Linked DNA regions of Homo sapiens: regions 1, 3 and 4 are each linked to region 2. The links are contacts of gene promoters, found by promoter capture Hi-C in human tissues and cell types (Jung and others, 2019). All regions are on one chromosome and are shown on one strand. Each heading gives the region's core, a stretch centred on a gene start or on the middle of the fragment in contact. The rest is flanking DNA. Distances are from core to core; before and after follow the strand shown.

What was found. Contacts are between HindIII fragments. The study calls those that stand out against the background at their distance.
Region 1: a fragment that was not itself captured here is called in contact with the fragment with the promoter of ERBB4 in region 2 in 1 of the 25 tissues and cell types used here (H1 embryonic stem cells).
Region 3: a contact is called between a fragment that was not itself captured here and the fragment with the promoter of ERBB4 in region 2, in 1 of the 25 tissues and cell types used here (lymphoblastoid cells).
Region 4: a fragment that was not itself captured here is called in contact with the fragment with the promoter of ERBB4 in region 2 in 2 of the 25 tissues and cell types used here (dorsolateral prefrontal cortex and lymphoblastoid cells).

What each region holds. Positions count from the first base shown.
Region 1 is chr2:211,898,265-211,904,393 of GRCh38, reverse strand. The region is part of intron 3 of ERBB4 (erb-b2 receptor tyrosine kinase 4); the gene reads left to right. Among named protein-coding and RNA genes, the nearest start is that of MIR548F2, 530 kb to the left of the region's middle. The HindIII fragment of the contact is 7,476 bases long and covers 1-6,129 here.
Region 2 is chr2:212,536,277-212,541,958 of GRCh38, reverse strand. ERBB4 (erb-b2 receptor tyrosine kinase 4) reads left to right here and starts at 3,157. Exons shown (of 28, transcript NM_005235.3): 1 at 3,157-3,510. The coding sequence starts at 3,429. RefSeq lists an enhancer at 4,126-4,626. The HindIII fragment of the contact is 8,258 bases long and covers 851-5,682 here.
Region 3 is chr2:211,716,506-211,722,534 of GRCh38, reverse strand. It overlaps ERBB4 (erb-b2 receptor tyrosine kinase 4), which reads left to right. Exons shown (of 28, transcript NM_005235.3): 7 at 1-142. Among named protein-coding and RNA genes, the nearest start is that of MIR548F2, 710 kb to the left of the region's middle. The HindIII fragment of the contact is 3,105 bases long and covers 2,680-5,784 here.
Region 4 is chr2:211,857,418-211,863,367 of GRCh38, reverse strand. All of the region lies in intron 3 of ERBB4 (erb-b2 receptor tyrosine kinase 4), which reads left to right. Among named protein-coding and RNA genes, the nearest start is that of MIR548F2, 570 kb to the left of the region's middle. The HindIII fragment of the contact is 6,124 bases long and covers 1-4,423 here.

The sequences.
Region 1 (6,129 bases), core at 2,286-4,785, 640 kb after region 2:
TGGGTCCATTTATGCTTTAAAATCTTGGATTGTTAGAAATTGAAAAATCTTCTGGAGATAGAGAGCTACTGTTCAAGAATGTACATGAGTTCATTAGTTTTTGAGGTTTTTGTTTGCAGTGTTCGGTTCTCTACATTTTAAGAGAGCTGGTTTATATTATGCTCTGTGTGCATGTTTATGTGTGAATGTGTGTGTTAGTGTGTTGCTTTCACAGCTGCTAAACATGCACCTGCATCAGACTGAATCCAGCTAAAACCCACTATTAGTGCATATTATCTTCAATACTTGGAACAGTATTTATTTGCCTTTGACATTAGCGGCTGACCCTGATGTTCCTTTATCTTTAAACAGCCAATCTTCTTTTCAGAATATTCTTCTTATAGCACTATATTTAGCTAATAATTTGATGTGTTGTAATTTTGTTCTTTCAGCTAGTTTTGAGTTCTAGCAATTTAAAATCTGTTTGATATAATGAAATAAGATATATAAGAATATGTCCCTAGGATATATCAGCAGTTGTGTTTCTTTTCTTTTCTTTTCTTGTTAATCTGGTATATTCTTGCAACCAAGAAGGTGAGCTTTAAGTAAAGGTGCTTTTTTTTTTCTTTTTTAATTGTGTAATCAATGCTACAGAGTGAAATCGGCATTTAATACAAACCTCTTTTTTTATCAGTATATTGTTTAGGCAACAAGTTAAATTCATGCCCACAAAGGGATTAAATATTGGCATTTCTTGTTGGGTTTCTCTTTTGAAAAACAGTCACTAACATATTTATTGATTACCCATTTCAATAGAAACCATGTGTGCAAAATTTAAATTGTTTACTCAAGTAGATGAAGGATATTTAGAAAACCAACCAAAATTTCATGAGAAATACATTGAATTTAAAATTTCATGTATATTACTCTCATGAATTGGTCTTTCTTTCAAAGTCAGATTTCTGTTGCAACTTGTTCATTTAGATTTTCATATTTTGCTTAGATGTTTCTTTTCCATGCCTGCCTTGCACCCAAAAATCATTTTCCAGGGATTAAGTCAAGCTGATCAAATTTAGTTAAACTGTAGGACATTAAAATATACTTCATTCAATATGATATTTAATTTAACATTATAAAATTAAGATGTAAATACAAAGTTTGTTTTCATGCTTCTCAATTCATCACATATTGGTTAATTACTGAGAGCCTATTCAAGCAGTACTTTTGGAACTGAGTAATAACATTTATTTGCCACTCAATCTGATGATTTGAAGAAAGAAACATTGTGGCAAATGTGGAGGGAAAGAGACTTATTTTAAGTTACTTAAATCAGCTGAAAGAGGGGAGAATAAAATGCAATAGAAGAGCTATATATGAGACATTGCAGAAGAAAGTTTGACATAATTAATTTGTGATATATTTCAGTGAAACAATGGCATATAGATTGAGATTACAGAGATAATTAGTTTTACTGAGTGAAGATTTTTAGTTTTCTAAAGAAAAGTAATTATATATTAAATAGTAAAATGGTACTTTCTGAGTTGTTTTTAAATATAGTTTTTGCTTTGTGTTGCTCTTAATTTCTAGCCATTTCATTACCAGTAATGCTGATTAAAATATCTGACTCTATAATCTATGATTTTTTATAGTTCAAAATAGTCTGATAAGTATATAGAAGGATATGAAAACAAAATTTTTAAGAAAAAAATATACATAGAAGGAAAATTACTCAATTTTGAGACTTTATTAACCAGTAAATTTGCTTCTCAATACTTTATTTGCCCAGATATTTAAAGAATTCAGAAGGAAAGAAGAAGGAAAAAATCAAAACTCATTCTAGAAAATTTATTTCTTTTCAATAGCTCTTTTTTCTCTTACATATACATAGAAAAGATGTTTAGTTTAAAATAATGTGTTTAAATTATTTTTTATCACTTCACTATAATTTAGTTCTTAGCTGCCAATAACTATTTTGTACAGTATTAGTTGGTGTGAAATAGGAACCAAATTTTTCCACTGTTATATATTACAGATGTTAATATCTATAATATATTAAAAATGCTTGCTTGTTGTTTTATTTCTGTGTTTACTGTTAGAAAAAACTCCCCTTAAAATACCGTTATACCGTTTCATTAGAAACATTTTCTATTTAGTTATAATTTAATAAAAATGTCATTGATTGGTGTTTTATTTGTTTTTTCGCAAAATAGTCTTTGTGGAGGCACAGAGAACAAGGGGTAATCCCTGCTCAAAGAAGCATGTATAGTACAATGAAGAGATCACATATTTAAACCAATCATACAAATGAGCAAAGCAACACTGGAGAGAAGTGAGGGAGTTGCCATGTATATGAATTAGGAAGGTTGGAAAGCTTTCTAACTAAAAAAAAAACTATTTTGTGAGTCTCAAAACATAAGAAAAATTATGACAAATAACAGAACATAAAAGTGGTACATAATTTATAACACAGCCACCCAAGAATCTATACCTACACACCATGTCTAAGGAGTTGCAATTTTTTAAAAACATTGTAAATTAAGTACATTAATGTTTATGTAAAAGCAAATTTTTTTTGACTCTACAAATAATGCTCATGGGTGCAGCATTCTTTATTCATCAAGTGCCATTTTTAACTGGAGTTTTAATATCAAGGATGATAAATATAGGAAAAAAGCTATTAGGCTGTCAATTTTCCTTGACAAGTCCTAACATGCCAGATGTATGCATAGTAATAAACACTCCCGTTATATGCGATGCCTTAATCTCTGAGATGATGATGTTGAAAAACACCACAGATAACATCTTGAGATGGGATAAACATGTGCAAGTGGTGAGGTGGCCACAGTGAAAAGCAGAGTTATGGCAGAGTTACCCTTCGGTAGTCATTGGATGAGAAATTTCCCCAGGTGGGTAATGCTTGCAGAAGGACATTTGGAGCGCTCCTTCAGGTTATCTCCGTGGGCTCTGACAGCAGGTCACTGACTATTCCTGCCAGGATCAGCGCCCACACACAGTGTAACACCATGCACCTGTCATGCTTCCAGAAGGAGCTGATGCATCTACTTACCAGACAGTTTTTTAAATCTATCACATTAAAATGCTCATTTATTGAATGTAATTTCTATTTAAAAAGAGAGCAAATGCCATTACAGGTGAAGAAAATGAATTTCAAAATAGCTAAGTGACTTATTCAAGGTTACAGGGCTCACAAAAACAGACCTAAGACATATCCTCTGGGTTTTTGGCATCAAGAACATGATCCTACCACTCTTTGAGAGAAGCCTATGCTCTCATTCACCATCATCATTTATTTACATGTCCAAATGAAAGAAAAATAACATACAAATTTCTTTCAAAATAGAAAACATTTTATAGTATATAATATTTGTAAAATCAAGCTGAGCTATTTAACTGATTTTTAATAAACATGTTTTGCCTCACTCCATTCATAGTGGAAGGGGTAAATATGATGGTCTTGAATCCTAATATATGATATTGAAATAGAGGAGATGATAGCCTGGGAAATATTGCTCAGGAAAATAGAAAATGCCACTCTATGTAGAATAATCCTTCTGATTAAAATTCAGTAATTGAGTGTTTACATTTCTGAAAGGAGGCATTGCCAGTATCTAGTAAATAAACTGGGTTACTTATAAACAGTGGACATGTGACAAGTCTTGGGGAGACATTTATTCTAAGTGCCTTGAGTCCATGTCCTGTATAGAGCCTTAGTAACTTGCTAAATATAACACTAGGATTTGAAAATAAAATTATCTCTCATAATGAATAATCAAAAAAGTCAGCAAACTCTTTACTAAAGCGTAATTACTTAAAATAGAGTTACTTTGAAGGACCCGCTTTTCAATAGAAAAATTGAGTTTGACTGGTTTGACATCATTCTTTCAAATTCCTGCAAACAGGAACCTTTTTTTTTCTAGGTTTGTACTTTTAAAGAGCAATGAGTTTGTTTTACTTTCATCTATGTTCTAGTCTATTATGAGGAAGGCAAAATGGTGTGTGTGTGTGTGTGTGTGTGTGTGTTTAAACATAAAATAGTAATTAGACTCTGACTGGGCAGCAGAAAGGTTAAATGTTCAATCTGTGCTATTTTAAGACATGGGAACAACTGCTTTCTCTGTGTTGATACGCTCAGAAGTCCCTGTTAGTATGAGGAGAATTTCTAATTGAGAATGCAAGAGCCGCTTAATGTTTTTGAAGTTCTTCGTAAATGAGCCTCGTATTTAGGAATCACTTTAAAGTTCAGGACACTCCTGGGTATTTATATTTGGCATACTGCCTGTGATGGAAAGTTGAGGCCTCGGGTTACTGTGTGCAGAGCAGCCCCTTCTGTGGGAATTGGCATAAGACACCTTGTCTACTGATGGAAGAGTGGCATTAAAACTGCACTCTAGTTTTAACAGGAGGGGTGCTCAAGAAACTTACTTAAAAGTACAATACTGAGTTTATAAGTTTGGTTAAGTTTGCCTTTCCGTTTATTCCAATTTTAGATATTAATTTTTCATCAATAATATAGCATTTTATTAGCTGCCAGTCAAGACAAATTAATATATTAAACTTAACAGTAACCACTTTCAACATATCAAATTACTATGCTTAGGGAAGTAGCAATCTATCATTAAGAAAAATAAGTGATGATTAGTGGCAAGCTCAGGTTACCAGAACCATTACTTTTTCTATTAAGGAATTATATGGGCAAACTAGAATGCTAGTCTTGGCCCCTCTTGAAAATTTATTCTATAACCTGTAAATCACAATAACATATCACTAGAGACATGAACAAACTTTTTATCAAATGTAAGTACTATAAAACAGTACTGTCTAATTTTACAGGTCTGCTTGACAAGAAAGTATTACTTTAAAAATTTAATAAATTACTTTGTGATTGGTTTCGTAATTTCTGTTTAGGGGTAACAGTCTGTTAACTTGCTCTTCAATTCAACTTTTATTAGAAAAAATATAATGTCATATAAAATGTTACTGGTAGATGAATTGCCCGAATTTAAAATATGATTTTAGAACTGAAATAAAATAAATGTGACTTTCATATGGCAGTTAGTTTACTAATGCCGTAGAGAAAATAGATAGAGGAAATGAAGATAGCTTCATTTTAAACCATGAATTCTATAGTCATTTCAACAAGTACATCAGATGAAATGTGAAGGAATTAATTCCTTGAGTGCTCATAAGTTTTCCTATAAATTAGATAAAACTTTGAGTTGTAATGGCTGATTATTATAACTTCCAAGAATCCCACGGTTGTTGAATGAAAGTCTTGAACATCTGAGTTTTTGTCTTGCTTCTCTTCTTTTCAAATGCCCAAATTGACTCATGTGTTAATTTAGAAAATATTTATTGTTATAATAGGTAAGGTACTGGGCAAAACATTATTGAAGTCTATAAAAAGAAAACCAGTAAGTGCAACATAGGAGAAGGAAATTTGAGAATGGTAGTTTGGACGATTGAGTGTGAAGATTCCATGCCACTTGTTTTAATACTGGTCTATAAATACAGCTGTGAACTTTTGTAACTTAAGGTCTGTAGGTCCCATACTTTGAATGATAGGCATGCTACTGGGACACAAGTGACTGACTACAGGAGGTTTCAACAGCAAAAGTAATTACTAATTCTATTCCCATTAGAAGAGAAATATAAATTAGTTAATGATTTTCCTTCCTTATCATTTTTTAATTTAATGATCCTGAAAATGTCAGATAGCTGTTTGCTCTTAGAATTACAAAAGAGTCAAGCAGTGCATTTTTTAAAAACATTTAATGGATTTTTAAGTCACTGTGTCATGAAAGGTTAGCAAATTTCTACAGTCATTTCACTTTAAGTGCAGAAAATGGTTTTTGAATAGACGTCAAATAGTTTTTAGAATTACTTCTATACAAATTACTTTTGTCAGATACATAGTAACCTTACATTCATAATGTATAGACACTTGAAGAAAATCTATTATGCCTCTGTAATATCATTTGTGGAAATGAACTCCAGGTAACTTCCTAATTCTTATGGCTAAAGGCACAAATTAAATATAAAAGAAATATCAATGAAATAACATGTTTAATTCAATCATTAGGCATTCTCTTTGTGCTGTGTTTTATCAAAATGATTAAACTATCTTAGATA
Region 2 (5,682 bases), core at 1,908-4,407:
AATATTCCCTACTCTGGTATTTGTTTCTTATAATGACTTAGATGAGATGGGAAGCAAATGAGGGTAGACACTGAAATAACTGATTCTTGACTTGAGCTCATGGCTTCTTTCTCATCCTTTGGCTTGCCCATACAGGGTACTACCTTCCTGTCTACATTTCAAATTATCTGAGCTGGAATCTGATTGGGTAGACAAGGCACCATCAAATATATCATGCTTTTTTTGGCAAAAGCTTTGATGTCAAATCATTTTATAGGCTGCTGTTCAGATACCCATCTGTGGCCACATATCTAAAATTGTTGTTTCAATGTTAGAATGAGTAAAATGGGGATCAAGGCAGAACAAACAGAATTAGAGGGAAACTGTGGGTATGTTGGGTAATGTAATAGGTGAATCCTTGTATGGGCTGTTTAATATCCACAAAAATATATACTAAGTGTTTTTTTAAACCAATGAATATTAATGGAAAATCCTCCTTTGTCAAGAATTATTCTAGAAGATATGGGTGAGAGCAGGGCATATAGAAGATATTCTGTTATAGAAAAGCTATAAAATTGACAGGGGAACAAAAACTAACATAATTGGCACAACTATAAAAAAATCCAAAATATTCAGGCCATGAAGTTTTTGCCCTACAATTTAAGCGAAAATATGCAACTCATTTATTCACTTTGTCTTTTTTTTCTTTTTCTTTTTCTCTCTTTTTTTTTTTCAGAGATAGGGTCTTGCTCTATCTCCCAGGTTGGAGTGCAGTGGCATGATCATAGCTCACTGTAACTATTAACTCCTGGGCTCAAGCAATTCTATCCCATCTCAGCCTCCCAATAGCTAAGACTACAGGTGTGCACCACCATACCCAGCTCATTAAAAAAAAAAAAAAAAAAAGGTAGAGTTGAGGTCTCACTATGTTGCCCAGGTTGGTCTGGAACTTCTGGCCTCAAGGGATCCTCCCACTTCAGCCTCCCAAAATGCTAGAATTACAAGCATGAGCCACCACACCTGGCCCATTCCTTCACTTCGTGCAACATAATTGCCATCAGAAACCAGACTTTTTTTTTTTTTTTACTACAGAGACTTAAACTTTTACAAAAGGAAGATGTTTTTCTCATTTAAATTGTCATTCTAGGGACAGAAAGTAAGTTTTGAAAAGAAGTAGCTTTTATGGAAGAGAGGTGCCTGAGAATTTCAAAAGGATTTAAGACAAGGGGAATGAGAAGAGATTGAATGAAAGAAGAGAAAACAGAGAGAAAGAGTAATTAAAAAAAAGAAAAGAAAAGAAAACAAAGATAATCCCAAAGAGCAGTGTGCACAGTTTTGCTGCAATCAGTACCATTCTGGTCAAGTCTCCGTCATCTGCTCTAGGCTTAGTTCCTCTCTGCCCTAGGCTGCTTCTGGTAAAACCGCACGCTCAGCTTGTTGGGCGTCTTCATGGAGCCTGTTATTTGCTGTGGGTCTAAGAAAGGGAAAGCTTCAGGCTTCAGGCATCTGTACCTCCTATCTGTTCTCAGCTCCATGGAAATTCTTAAGGGATGGGGCTATAGATAAGAGAGTGGGAAATGGAGATCAAGGTCTCAAATGAAAGGCAGGGTGGTTTGATTTTTAAGCTCCCCTGATACTTTTTATTTATATATTTGCTGCTTCTAGAAAAACCAAAAAAGGAAAGTGATTCATACATAGAATGCCTGTACAAATAGCAAACCAATAACTACCCCCAGCAGATTCTGGCCCTTGCCAGGGTGCGGTTTCAGAGCTGTAAAAGGCAAGGGATATGTACATTGAAATGACCCAGTCCCAGAATATTTTAGATTCAGAAAAGGTCAGAGACTTTCGTAACTAGCAATGACCTCCAGATTAGGGACCATGAATGTGCAGAGTGAGGACAAGGAAGGGGCCTAAAGCTGGGTCTACTGTAGAATAAACAGAATCATTTAAGGTTAATTATGTTCTGATGTGGCCTCCTTAAATTCTTTCAGGCTGGGGACAATTTCTAGCCCTTTAAGATCAAATCAGTGGCTTTGGACTAGAATCTGCTTAATAAGAATGAACTCCAAAGGTGAAAAAAAAACATAAAATCTAAAAATCAAAGGATATGCCTTTATAAATGTGAAAGTTTAGTTTGGCTCAATGTTGGTCAGTTTAGAAATGTGGGAGTAATCGGAGAGATGGCATAACTGGGGGCGGGAGGCGGGGCGGTGATTATACCCCTACCACTACCTAATCCTCAGGGGCTACCAGTTACTTGCTGTACACACTTTTAAAGTACTTTCTAATTGTGGACCATGAGTGGCAGAGTACTGCGGGCGGAGGCTTTTTGCTGAAAGCAACATTGACTTTTATTTCTAGGGAAAGTCTTGTCTGTAGATGAGCACCGTGGGGCAACGGAGAAAATGCTGACTTTCTTGTTTAAAAAAAAAAAAAATTTCCGTAAGCGGCCCTCCAATGGTCCGTCCACTCAGCAGGCCAGCTGTCCCAGGCCTCTGCCAGGGAGGGAAGACGAGTGCTTCAGTGCATGGCTTCGGTGAGCCCTTTAAATCCAGCTTCCCCTGCCCCCACCAAGAGGCTCCCTTTCCCTGACAGGTGTTTTCCCAACTCCGGAGGCCCAGGATTTTGGGGAGTGGCTGAGCCAATAAGATTTCCCTTTGGAAGGGGGGGGGAAGGGCGTGGCTAGTTGGGTCAGAGCATGGGCGGGGTTTGCGCGGCTGAGCAGAGCCGGCCTGGTTGCGTGGAGGGTTGTTTTATTCCCACCGCCCCCCGCACCTTTTTTTTTTTTTTTTCTGGAGTCTTATTAATTTCTCTGTGGGCTGCAGCTGGAGACCGCGGAGCGCTGGAAATGACGCTCGGAGCTTTAATTACCGCAGCCGCCGGACAAGTGTGAGGAAAGCTGAGAGGAAAAAGAAGGACGGGATCCGGGGAGAAGCGAGAAGCTCCCCCCGCCCCGCTCCCCTCCCGATTTGGACTGGAGGTGCAAGGAAACTGAAGAAGGAGCAGAACATAGCCCGGCTGCGGGGAGAGGCCGGAAACCTACCGCCTCTTTGCAATCAACTTTTTTTGGAAACCTTTCGCCCCCCTTCCTTTTTTATTGTTGACCAACCAGTGAGAGAGAGAGAAAGTGAGGAGGGAGCGAGCAAGCGAAGGCTCACGCGGGGAAATAGCTGCACAGTCCGGCCCAGAGCGCCAAGCGCACACACCGAGCACACTCCCACACGCGCACACACGCGCTCACACTCGCCCCCTCCTCGGGCCCCGGCCCTGGACCCGCGGGCGCGGACTCGGTCGCCCGCCCTGGGAGTCGCCACACCGCGCGCGCCGCGCCCGCCCCCCTCGCACCCCCACGCGCGCCCGGCTGGGGGATCTCCTCCGCGTGCCCGAAAGGGGGATATGCCATTTGGACATGTAATTGTCAGCACGGGATCTGAGACTTCCAAAAAATGAAGCCGGCGACAGGACTTTGGGTCTGGGTGAGCCTTCTCGTGGCGGCGGGGACCGTCCAGCCCAGCGATTCTCAGTCAGGTGGGTTCCTTCTGGCACTCCGGTCGCCGAACCTGCAGCCGCCGGCGGGGCTGCCTCGAGTGGCTCCCCTGCCCTCTTCACCCATCCCGGGAGGCGTGGAGGGACCGCTTGACCGGGGCCTCTTCCCTGGGCTTTCGGTCACCCCTCTTTCCATTTGAAACTTACCCTGTATGTGTGCGTTTGCTTTATTTATCGTGAAAAATCACTCTGAGTCCCTCTTTTCTCTCCTTAACCCCCTGCTTTTCTTTCCCGAGCGTTTTGTTTGGGAGCCTAAGCGGGATCCCTTCTGGTGGCGCCTGTTGTTCGGGACATGGGAGACCCAAATCCCCAGTCAGAGGAGACTCTTCTGTCCCTGTCGGGTCCCCGAGGGCAGAACCCGCACCGCCGGGGCCGCGGTCCTGGGGCGGTGCTGGCTGGGCCTCTCCCGAGCCGAGCCCGAAGGGCGGTGGAGAGCGGCGCTCAGAAAATCGGGCTTTGCACCTGTGTGTGCTGCTGGCGACCGCTGCGCCCCCAGTCGCCCGAGCCTTGTGGCGTCAGACGCAACTCGCGCCCAGCCCGGGCAGCCGGAGTGCAGCAGGCGGGCGCGCCTCGGTCCGGGGCCCGGAGTTCTGGGCCTCTTCCGCCGGCTTCCCGGAGCCCTCTCCCCATTGACTTGAGGGGCGCTTACTCGCCTGCCTGACCTCTTAAAAAAAAAAAAAAAGGCTTGGCACACTTGAGCCAGAAGCCCGGCCTTCCCGTCGGTTGCCGTGTTTGGCTCCGGGAAGAGTTCTTCCTGTAGTTCAACTTGCTATTGGCCGGAGTCCTTCAAACTTGTCTGTTTACTGCCCGGCCAGGCTGCCGAGCCTGCGGGTCACTGGATCCACCCGAGGCGAAAGCGGCAGCGGCGATGGGTGCGCGGCCACTGCTTGCTGGAGAGCTCGAGCCCCAGGTACCTGGGCAGGCAAAGGGCTAATTGACCCCGAGAGGCAGCGCGGCGGGGCTGGCCCGCCACGGCTTGCAGGACTAATGACAGCACCTGCAGTGCAATGGAGCTCAAAGTTTCTGACACTAGAGTTTCCTGGGGATGAAAGTGGGACGGGAGAGGTCTGAGGAGGACCGGTGTCTTGACGTGGCCAAGGGGTGCCTTTTGGAGAGCCAGAGAGATTTCCGAAACCATCCAGGGATGGTGACTGGAGCGTGGGAAGTAGCTTGAGGTGATAAAGCCCCCGGGAGTGGCGATAGGGAGCGCTTTAGGCCCCCGGAGGGTGTCCTTCTGACCTCACCAAGAAAACGGCTAGCTGTAGTTTTCCCGCTCCGCCGCCGCCGCCGCCGCCGCCTCCTTTGCCTAGTAAATAACAAGTTACAATTATCGAGTCTTTCAAAATGACCTTCGAATGGCACATGTGAGGCGTTTGTGCTGGCCGTTTGCACCCTCCCAATTACTCCGAAATTCTTCACGCATACCAGGTCCCGCGCTCCAGCCACCTCCGGAATCACACCAACACGGACTTGACATTCCAAGCGGCCTCTTAGATACATCTCTTTTTATCTCCCTCCCCACTTCGAGTCCCTTCATATTTTCCCTCAATGGGTTGATTATGCACATTGACCCATTCAAAGGCATTGGCGACCGACATGCAGGCTTAGCCGAGAGGAATTTCTACGAGGCGACCTACTGGGGGCTGTCTGGTTCAGCCTCTGCCACTGGGGGACCCCGCTCCGAGTCCGCAGCAATTTGGTATTAACTGTGCGGCTCCGAGTTGAGCTATGCCGAAAAGCCCTTTTCAGAATTTCTGCAAGGAATGTAATCCAAATTAGTTCTGCAGCTGTCCTCTTCCTCGTCTCAGGCGACACTAGCTCGCGCCCTCGCTTCGTCTCTTCTCGTTTCCCTGGGCGAATTGTCAGACCCACAAGTGAGCCCATTTAGAGCGCGAGGATTAGCGTGCCATTGTTGTTCCGTGTGTGACTCTGTACTTGAAATTCTGGGGGCACAAAGGCGAGCCTCACTTGTTCAAAACACAAAGTGATCCAGATGAAAGGGCCGCACAAAGAAAAGCTCTCGGGTGCATCCCTGGTATAATTGCAACACGCATACTAAGGTGATCCATTGGAAACTGTAAATGCCCCGGGGGACTTCGTTTTTCATCCTCCCCCACCCCCACCCTGCCGCACCTGGCAGGGAAAGTTCAGCTG
Region 3 (6,029 bases), core at 2,983-5,482, 820 kb after region 2:
GCCTGCATGAATTTCAATGACAGTGGAGCATGTGTTACTCAGTGTCCCCAAACCTTTGTCTACAATCCAACCACCTTTCAACTGGAGCACAATTTCAATGCAAAGTACACATATGGAGCATTCTGTGTCAAGAAATGTCCACGTAAGTAACAGAATAAGAATAACCAAATTAATTAGGTCATTATTTGAAATCAAAAGAATTTTATGTAAGTTTATTTTAATGTGAAACTTGTAAGAATATTATAAGTACTTTGGGTATAGATACTATTGCCCCCATTTTATAAATAAAGAAACTAAACCAAAACTTTAAAGTGATTTGTGTAAAGTTTCATAGCAAAAGGATGACATGTTTGAGGTTATAAAACTCCTACTGTGGCTGGGCGCACTGGCTCACACCTGTAATGCCAGCACTTTGGGAGGCCGAGGTGGGTGGCACCTGAGGTCAGGAGTTCGAGACCAGCCTGACCAATATGGTGAAACCCCGTCTCTACAGAAAATACAAAAATTAGCCAGGCGTGGTGGCGGGCGCCTGTAGCCCCAGCTATTCTGGAGGCTGAGACAGGAGGATGGTTTGAACCTGGGAGGTGGAGGTTGCAGTGAGCCGAGACGGTGCCACTGTACTCCAGCCTGGGTGACAGAGAGAGACTCCATCTCAAAAACAGACAAACAAACAAAAACCTCTTTCTGTTTTTACTATACCACAGTATTTTTGCCTATCATACTGTTTCTCCAAAAAAGTAATTAGTTAAGTGGCAGCAAGCTGTGTAATGAATAGGATCTGCTTCTAATAACAATGGATTTTTACCTAAAATTATTTCTGATTCCTTATTTATAACTAGAATACTTAGCATTATATTTTTAATATCAAGTTAACCTTAAACAAAACATGTATATATATATATATATATATATATGTTTAATAGCAAATTAACCTTAAATAAAACATGTATATATATAAAGGGTATGTTAAAGGATCTTAAACAAATTGATAACATCCTGAGGATTCAAAAGGACCGACTTAACTTTCATCAGGTATTCAGGATAATATATTGATATTTACTTGACTCTATTTTTTTTTTTTTTTTTTTTTTGCTTTGAGTAACCAATGGGACATTTCCTATTGGAAAGGCTGAAAAAAATCACTATATATGCCCATATACTCATTTAAAAGAATTATTTATAGTCTGTGCTATACATATAATGTGACTTACTTCACTTTGTGTATGTGATACAGTAGGAAGTACAGGCTGAGCATCCACAATCCAAAAATCCAAAATCTGAAATGCTCCAATATTTGAAACTTTTAGAGTGCTGACATGTTGTCACAAATGAAAAATTTCACACCTGACTTCGTGTGATAGGTCACAGTCAAAATGCACACAACACAGTTTGTTTAGTGTTCCCAAGAGGGAAAGAAACCACACACATACACACACTCTCAGCCCCTTTCGACTGTGGTACATCTTTTCCTTGCATACCCAGATTTCCAAAGGGAAGCACACCCACAGGTAATAAAATGGCACGTGTGCAGGCCAGACACACCAATGGCAGGTTTTCCAAAGTGCCATTTTGTGGTGTTGAGATATTGTTGAAAATGTCAAAAAGGCCTGCAGCTATCCCTCCAGGTAAGGGTGGTAAAAATAAGAGGAAACATTTATGTTTATGTGTAGCTTAGAAAGTCAAGCTTTTGGAGAAATGGGAGAACGGTGTAAGTATGCAACATCATAGAGAAGAGAAGAGTACAGTGTTGGTATGAACACTTTGTGTGACCTGAAGAAACAGAAGGATAAACTGTTCTATGCTGAAAATGAATAACAGAAGTTAATGAAAAATAGAACAGCACTGAATAAAGCTAATGATAAAGATCTTGCTTGTGTACCGAAAGAGTGGATTTTTCAGCATGTAGATGAACATAAGCCACATAATGGTATGCTGATCATCAAACAGGCAAAGATCCAGCACGGTGAACTGAAAGTTGAAGAGAACTGTAAATATTCAACAGGCTGGACACAAAAATTTAAGAAAAGACATGGCGTTAAATCTTTAGAGATTCCCGGTGACAAAATATCTGCTGATCACAAAGCAGTGGAGAAATTCATCATTGAGTTTGCCAAGGTCATCACTGATAAAAATCTGACACCAGGACATTTCTGTGATGCTGATGAAACATCACTGTTTTAACATTGCTCCTCCACAAAGGCATTGACCACAGTTCATTAGACAGCCCCTGCAGGAATGAAGGATACCAAAGACAGAATGACTGGGCTGGAATGTGCTAATACAGCAGGCACACATAAATGTAAACTTGCTGTGATAGGCAAAAGCTTGCATCCTCAGTTTCCAAGGAGTGAATTTCTTACCAATTATTATGCTACTAAAAATGCATCGGTTACCGGGAACAACTTTTCTTATTGGCTTCACCCAAACATTTTATACTAGCACCTCCTGCTCATCGCTGGGAAGCTGGACTGGATGTTGAATGCAAGATTTTGTTTTTCCTTGACAACCGTTCTACTCATCCTGCAGCTGAAATTCTCATCAAAAACAATGTTTATGCCGTGTACTTTCCCTTAAATGTGACTTCATTAATTCAGCCATGTAAACAGACTATCCTTAGAGCAATGAAAAGTAAATACAAAAACACTTTCCTTTTTTTTTTTTTTTTTCTTTTCTTTGTTTTGAGACAGAATCTCGCTCTGTCACCCAGGCTGGAATGCAGTAGTATGATCTCGGCTCACTGCAACCTCTGCATCCCGGGTTCAAGCGATTCTCCTGCCTTAGCCTCCCGAGTAGCTGGGACTACAGGCACGTGCCACCATGCTTGGCTAATTTTTTGGATTTTTAGTAGAGACGGGGTTTCACTGTGTTAGCCAGGATGGTCTCGATCTCCTGACCTTGTGATTAGCCCGCCTCGGCCTCCCAAAGTGCTGGGATTACAGACGTGACCCACCGCACCTGGCCAAAAACACTTTCTTGAACAGCATGCTAGCAGCAGTGAACAAAGACCTGGGTGTGGGAAGGTTTTCAAAAGAAGCTTAGCATGAAGGATGCTGTATATGCTGTTGTCAATGCTTGGAACACAGTACTAAAGACACAGTTTTGCATGCCAGGTACAACCTCTGACCTATGACTGTGTTCGGGAAAAAGGTGGTTACTTGGAAAGATTCCCTATGTCAGGTGAGAAAAAAATAATCCTTCAGAGTCCATCAGTAAACTGGAAGAAATGGATATCACAGAAGTTTTTAACATTGATAACGAGTTGTTCCTTCATTGACTGATGGTGAAATTGCAGAAGTCGCTCTGAATCAAAGCAATCGTGGTAATAGTGACAATGAAAATGTTTTTAACATTGCACAAAAAGTTATCTACAGAAGACATGATGAAAATGTGTTATGGGCTCACTGAAGGACTAGAGCATGGTGCATTCATAACAGAACAAGAAGTCATGGGAGTTTATAAAATCAAAAAGAGACTTCTAAGACAAAATTCACTGTTAATGGGCAAATGACCCTGGAGGAAACATTTTAAAAAGCCATCCAGCAGAAAGCCCCCTTATCCCTGTAGGACCTATTCCCTGGTTTCTCAGCTGTTTCTGATGTTTCTTTTTACCTAAGAAAATAAAACAGTGTATCGTAACCTTTTAATCAAAACACAGCATCATAGATGGACACTAAAAGCCTGCATTATTTGTTGTTGTTGTTGTTTCACAGCTGATGGAGGTATTCTGGTCATTCTACTCTGATACCTAGTTATTCCAAACACATTATCTTTTCACTGTGTTAGTGGTATACCATGTTTTTTTTTTTTAGTTTTATATATTTATGTGTGAATAAGTGTAAGAATATGATTGCTCATCAGTAGTATATAAATTTAGTGTTATGAATGATGGTGATGCCAAACAACCACAGATTGTCTATGTTGATGGCTGAGATAGTGATGCCTTTGTTTCTGATGGTTCAGTGTACACAAACTGTGTTTCACACCAAACATTACTTAAAATATTATATAAAATTACCTCAGGTCATGTGTATAAGATATATGGAATCATAAAAACTGAATATTGTTTTTAGACTAGGGTTTCATCCCCAAGGTATTTCATTATGTTTATGCAAATATTACAAAATCCAAAAAATTCTGAAATCTGAAACACATCTGGTCCCAAGCATTTTGGATAAGGGATACTCAATGTGTGTAAGGGACATGGGATTAGAGTGGCTATGGATCGTGGCTTCGTTCCCTTATTAGTCATGTGATTTTTAAATAACACCTTTTGTTCTCTATTTTTTCTTCTTTAAGATGTGGGTTATAAAAATTATATCTTCTGGCCAGGCACGGTGGCTCGTGCCTGTAATCCCAACACTTTGGAAGGCTGAGGTGGACAGATCACGTGAGGTCAGGAGTTTGAGACCAGCCTGGCCAACATAGTGAAACCCCATCTGTACTAAAAATACAAAAATTATCCGGTCGTGGTGGCACACACCTGTAATCCCAGCTATTTGGGAAGCTGAGATAGATAGGAGAATGCTTATACCCAGGAGGCAGAGGTTGCAGTGAGTCGGGATCATGCAATTGCACTCCAGCCTGGGCAAAAAGAGCAAAACTCTGTCTCAAAAAATATATATATCTTCCCTCCTTTCTTTCCAGAGCCATTATAACAATCGAAGAGATAGGATATAAGGATGAGGGGGGTAGATTTTTTATTTTTTTGGAGACAGAGTCTGGTTCTGTCACCCAGGCTGGAGAGCAATGGCGCAATCTTGGCTCACTGCAACCTCCGCCTCCCGGGTTCAAGCGATTCCCCTGCCTCAGCTCCTGAGTCGCTGGGATTACAGGCACATCCACCACGCCCAGCTAATTTTTGTATTTTTAGTGGAGCCTGGGTTTCACCATGTTGGCCAGGCTGTCTTGAACTCCTGACCTCAGTTAATCCACCTCCCTCGGCCTCCCAAAGTGCTGGGATTACAGGCGTGAGCCACCGCACCAGGCCGAGAGGGGTAGATTATTTAAAAAGGCTTTGAAAACACAATTCTAGTCATTGTTATGAAACACGTTCATATCCATTAAAGTAAAAATTGTACTTTGACTTCTTTATGTATATATATGTGTGTTTAATATGTCTCTTAATTAGCATTTTAAAGTCACAGACACACTAACTCCAAGACAGCAAAGATTTTGCATCTTAAATATTTCAATATTCACACCAGTCCTTTTCATCTAATAACCTCTTATCTAAAGTCACCCTATATGTCACCATGTACCATCCTTACAAAACTGAGGGCTTGGCAGTATTGCAGGATGGGGCTAAATGATATTTTCCCTTTTCTTAGAAGCGCATTATACTACTACCTAATCTACTACCTTCAAATTAGGATGCCTTTCCCAAAGACAGTCAAAACTATGCTTTCTTGGAGTTTTTTTGGTGCTTTCCCTTTTATTCAAGTCCTTAGGTTGAAGCCCGAGGGTTGGGTGAGAGCAGAAGTACCAGGAAAATTTGAATTAGAGAATTCCCCTTTTCTTTACTATAGCCCTTATAGTGATTCACCTGAAAGCTGTCAACTCCAAACTGTAGTAAGTGGCTAAACATGAAGACCTATTGTGTGAAATTACCTGACTTGTTTACTTTAAATGTGGTAACTTACAGTCTTCCTTTCTTAGATTAGTTTGTGTATCTCAAACTACAGGCTAATTTAAAGCACTTCAGTATTTGTCTATGAAAAAATTTAAATCTCTGATGGGCCTGGCTTACATGGCTTGGTTTGCCAAATTGAAGCTTTCTTGGGAAAACAAGGACATTAAGCTTCTTCTTTTTTTTTTGTTTTTTTTTGTTTTGTTTTGTTGTTGTTGTTGTTGTTGTTTTTTGAGACGGAGTCTCGCTCTGTCGCCCAGGCCGGAATGCAGTGGCGCAATCTCGGCTCACTGCAAGCTCCGCCTCCCGGGTTCACGCCATTCTCCTGCCTCAGCCTCCCGAGTAGCTGGGACTACAGGCGCCCGCCACCAGGCCCGGCTAATTTTTTGTATTTTTAGTAGAG
Region 4 (5,950 bases), core at 112-2,611, 680 kb after region 2:
GCTGGGGTGGCCAGCTTTTATTCCCTTATTTGTCCCTGCTCATGTCCTGCTGATTGGTCCATTTTACAGAGTGCTGATTGGTCCATTTTACAGAGAGCTGATTGGTTCGTTTTACAGATTGCTGATTGGTGCATTTACAAACCTTTAGCTAGACACAGAGCACTGATTGGTGCGTTTTTGCAGAGTGCTGATTGGTGTGTTTACAATCCTTTAGCTAGACACAGAGTGCTGATTGGGGTGTTTTTACAGAGTGCTGATTTGTGCATTTACAATCCTTTAGCTAGACACAGAGTGCTGATTGGTGCGTTTTTACAGAGTGATGATTGGTGCATTTACAATCCTTTAGCTAGACAGAGTGCTGAATGGTGCATTTACAATCCTTTAGCTAGACGCAGAGTGCTGATTGGTGCATTTTTAAAGAGTGCTGATTGGTGCATTTACAATCCTTTAGTTAGACACAGAGCGCTGATTGGTGCATTTACGATCCTATAGCTAGACAGAAAAGTTCTCGAAGTCCCCACTCGACCCAGGAAGTCCAACTGGCTTCACCTCTCACTATTTTTCTTCAGCACAATTCCTTTTATGGTATTATCTTACTCACACTTTATTTTTAGATAGAACCATATTAAATTCCCTTTTTTCTAAGTAAAATAATGATCTGATATATCAGTTTTATGCAGTTCATTCCATTTTAAATTCTTTGAGCAAAGTATCTTTACTATATATTTAGAAGTCTTCTTCACCTATTCTAAAAGTTCCTTTTTTATTTCACAAAAATATAGCCAAGAAAATAGTTTTAATCAGTGATTGCAATGACAAGAGTTTCAATTATGCAGTGTTGTCTCCATGAATTAATCTAGTGAGTTTTGACTTATGAACATATTCTGTAGAAGTTATGTTTGAACAGGAATCTCTGGAAAATTGCCTTTTCTCATCTAAGACAATGCTTGAAAAAAATTGAGAACAAAGCATATATTCTCTACTGAATTAAAAATATAGTGTAAAAACTCTTATTTTCTGCTGATAAGAAACAGATGTTATAGCATTAATTTGGCTTTAACAAACTATTAGCTGTGATTTTATCATCATACAATTATTGTAAACTTGTTATTGTTTTTATCCCTTTAGCCGATAAATATGTTAAAAATTAAAATGGAAAATTTGAGTTCTAGCTTGAAAATAAACACTTGCTAGATCTAATGATTATTCTACATGTCATGCAATCAGAATCTTGAATGAGATTTTTAAGAGAGATATGGCACTACCTTTTATCTGTGTCTTTAAATATTTTAGTAACAGCAAGGTTAAATAAAATTTTTGAATAAATATGTTTTATATTAACTTGGATACAACTTTAAAGAATTTAAAATGCTGAATATAGAAAAAGAAAAGAAATTGTCCTTTATTTCACATGACTTTACCCATTTATGCTTTAAAATTTTTTAAAAGATCATTTGCTGGCTTTAATAGTAGTGAAAAAATTAGCATTTCATTTTATAACCCCATTGGTCAGCATTCCAAATCCTCTGTTTTAGTTTTTTCATTTCCTTGCTGTTTGCTGATCACACACATTCATTTCATCCACTGAGTTGTTTGTTTAGTTGTAGCTTCCTTGTTGTTCCAAGCCTCAAATCCCACCCATTCTAGAGTAATACATTTTCTGTAATTTTTTAATGAGTATTTTTATTCTTAAAGATAACCCAAGACTTCGTGTGTGAACATATTGTGCATGTATCACCTGTGAGAGATGAAGAAAATTATAAAAACAATTCATTGTTAGTCTTTAGCCAATATTTATAGGTTTTTCTTTATATTGTTAATGGCAATATTCAAATTGTGTTTGGGTTCCATCAATATTGTTTTTGGGCTGGGTGTAGTGACTCGTGTCTGTAATCCTAGCACTTCGAGAGGCTGAAGTGGGAGGATGACGGATGACTTGAGCTCAGGAGTTTGAGACTAGCCTAGGCAACACAGCCAAACCTCTTCTCTGCTAAAAGTAAAAAAAAAAAAAAAAAAACAAAAAAAAAACAAAAAAAAAAACACGCCTGGACTGATGGCATGAATTTGTGGTCCCAGCAACTCATCAGGCTGAGGTAGAGTGCTTGAGCCCAGAAGGTGGAGGCTGCAGTGAGCCATAATCACACCACTGCACTCCAGCCTGGGTGACAGAGTGAGACTCTGTCTCAAAAAAAAAAAAAACTACTTTTTTTTAATATATATATATATATATATATATATATATAAAATATATATATAAATATATATAATGTATTTATATATTTTATAATATATAAATATATTATATTTATATATATATAAATATATAAATATATTATATTTATATATATATAAATATATAAATATATAATATATTATATTATATAATATATTTAAATATATTTATATATTTATATATATATAAAATATATATAATGTAATATATTGTCTTTGTTTTTTCCTAATTCTTTTTGAGTTGTATTTTTTATTTCAGAGAAATAAAATTAATGATTTATTTTCATGCCAAATTATTCTCTAATGGTTATTATAGAGCCTAACACCATGGTAGTATTATAACATGCTAGTGTTAATGTAGGAGTGAATATTCCTATTTTTAATATTTAAATAAAACATTGCATAAGTATTTCCTAAGGTTTGGGAAATCATCTTTCTGTCAGTAACATAGCACTAAGTATTTATATGGCAAAAATTAAAATTTACTATATTTACTGTCAATAAACTTTAATTGTACTAGCAAGAGAGCAGAAATGCAGAACATTACAGACTTATAATGTGTGAATCACTTGCAAGCTAAGAGGCCTAGGTAATTATTTGTCTTAAATGAGTAGTGTACAATAAAACCCAGGGACAATGATAATTGAGGTGACTTCATCCTGCTTCAACTCTGTTATCACATAAAAGGAGCAATCTGTTTTTAATCTAAAATTTGACATGAGTAAACTTGTTTTATTAGTTCCTTGGTGCTTGCTAAAACAAAGAAAGCAGCAATTTAAGAGTTAGGCTTATAAAAGTCTTTTGAAGACTCTGTAGCTAGGACTTAATCAGAATAATGTTGAAAGTTAGAAAATAATTGGAGTAACTTAAAAGCACAAACAAGTCAAATTACAAAGAGTGAAAGGCAAATCTTGTTTCTCTATGTCCAGTATCATACAATCATGGTATACTTTACTTAGTAATGAAAGAGCTCTTCTAAGAAGTTTGCGACTTACAATAGCAGTTGGCTTGTGACTTTTCTCACATAGACTTCCAGAATTAAATTGATTTTGACAAATATTTAAAATGAATGACAAGAGATGTTTTGGCGTATAATAACCACCATTTATGTTTTTAAACAATTACAGAAACTTGTAAGATAAATTTAATGATTGCATTAACAATTTTTCTTTGTTTTACCATTGCCAATACGTTTGTAATGAATCACTTATTTGTGGTTTTTCTACCAGAAATAGGAAAAGAAGTTAATGGAAAACATTTACATTTCTTTTTCATTGCTGCTAATCATTTCTGCTTATTGGACATTGAAGAAGTGTGTCTTACAGAACTGATTACTTCTGGGTATATAACCTACTAATTATATGTGTGCTTTGCATTATTCTTGCCTTCAGCTTTCATATCCAATATGAGATAATGAGCAGATTGCTTTAATTCCAAAGCAATCACAGAGTCACCACCCCCAAAATATTTCTACAATAAAACGAGGGAATTGTTTCACTACAAAGTCAGGATTCATTTTGTATTATTTCTTACAGAGGAAGACATAGCTCCATAACTCTGGAGTGAACTTAAAATTAACTTTTAGGAATTTTAATATTAAACTTTATTAAACATAACACATCTTTTAAAGAATAGTCATTTACCTGAATGATTTTACTATCTAAGCTTATAAAATACAAAATAGGTATATTACAGTATTCATGAAATTCAGCCTAAAAAATGTGAATCCAAATATTTTTCTAATTTGACAAAGGTTAGATAATTTATGTGAACCAGATAGGGATGTGATAACATGATAATCAAGTTATAAGTTAGGGTTGCCATATATTTGTGAACTGCCTTTATCTAAAGACTTTTTCTAGAGAAAGAGATTTTAAGGGAATGCATGAGGAATTGGATAACAGTGACTCTTCATTTAGATTTCATTGATTGCTGAATAACTAAGTTCATTTACAGTTTTGATTGCTAAAATTGAATTAATTTTAGTAATATGTCTGGGAAGGCTGCAGAGGCAGAGGACAATATTATCAAGTTACATTAAAAGATACATTGCCGGCCAAGCACAGTGGCTCATGCCTGTAATCCCAGCACTTTGTGAGGCTGAGGCAGGTGAATCACCTGAGGTCAGGAGTTCAAGACCAGTCTGGCCAACATGGTGAAACCCTGTCTCTATTAAAAATACAAAAATTAGCCTGGTGTGGTGGTGCATGCCTGTAATCCCAGCTACTCGGGAGGCTAAGGCAGGAGAATCGCTTGAACGGGGAGTTGGAAGTTGCAGTGAGCGGAGATCGCACCACTGCACTCCAGCCCAGGCGACAGAGCAAGACTCCATCTCAAAAAAAATGAATAAATAATTAAAAGATACATTGCCTTTTGGAGTAGAACCACCATACAACATGCCAGATTGTTAATGGAAAGTATATTTCTATGTTACAGCTAACATCTGTCTCAAAATTTTATTTCTTATTTACAACTAGGTTTTTGTTATAGCTAACAGAGAAACGCTAGCCAAGGATTTTATTGCTGGCCAAAATAAAAAAAAAATGGCTTTTTGTGAGCCATGATTTTATTAACTCTGTTCCCAGTTTTAGTTAGTTACATTCCTTATTTAACTCAATAGAGAATTTTGGTAAGCTAGTACAAAATGGTCTAAATCAAACCATGCTGAGGACTTTATTTTGATTAGTCTTCAAACATTTGTTTTGACTTTTCATAAGCTTTAAATTTCAGATTTAGGGAAGTTAATTTACTGAATATACTTTTATATGTCAAAAACATTGGAGGATCAAAGCAATTAACTTTGGTTATGGAACTGTCTACGGGACTGTAAGGGTACTGTGCAGTCTTCCAATCAGCTCATTGCTTTTTCTCACTATGTGCATCAGCCAAGTCATCTTTATGCAGGCCTTTTGAAACCTCCATCTCTTGGTCTCAGTATCACTGTGCACTCTGTCTCCTTGTCTCCATCTCTTTCTTCACCTCTTCCACACTCTCTTTCTTCTCACCTCCTTCAGTCTTATTTCCCTAAGACGTTATGTGTGTGAACATAACTGCAGCTTTGTCTATGAGTAAATAAATGTGTGTGTTACATCGAGAAACATATGCATGCTTTCAAATTACAGAATTAGAAGCACGCTTACATTCATCGTGCCATCTATTAATAATAACTTCTCAGATCCTGGAGGTACTCACCATTTTCCTCATACAGATGACAGAGGATTTATTGTTGTGAGATCCTTACCCGTGTGCTTCACTCTTACTATAATAAATACATGCATTTCCCAATAGCGGAGAATTCAGTACTTTCAAATTACCTTTTCTCAAACAATCATCTTGCCTCTTGAGCTACTTGTCGTAATGTGTAAAACATTAACCTATAATCTCATGTATACCTTTGTAATAGACTTTACCTGAATGAAACAGTTTCAGGTAGGTAAATTGTATTCAAATTTGGCAAATAATTTATTTGAAAGGATGCTTTTAACATTTCCCAGAATATGCTGAGGCTTATCCAATTGTCATTTGTTTTTATTCCAAATTAGATTTTCTGTTATTCCTTTTATTCTTTTGTATTTTTATGTTTTGATTAAAATTCAGAAACCATGCTGAAGAAAAGCTGGAGGAGACAAAAAAAAAAGTAATTTTCAAGTTATTTGAGCAAGAGGCAATGCCGTTTAAAATGTATTATAGTTCAGTTGCTCTTCCAGTTTGCTGTGAG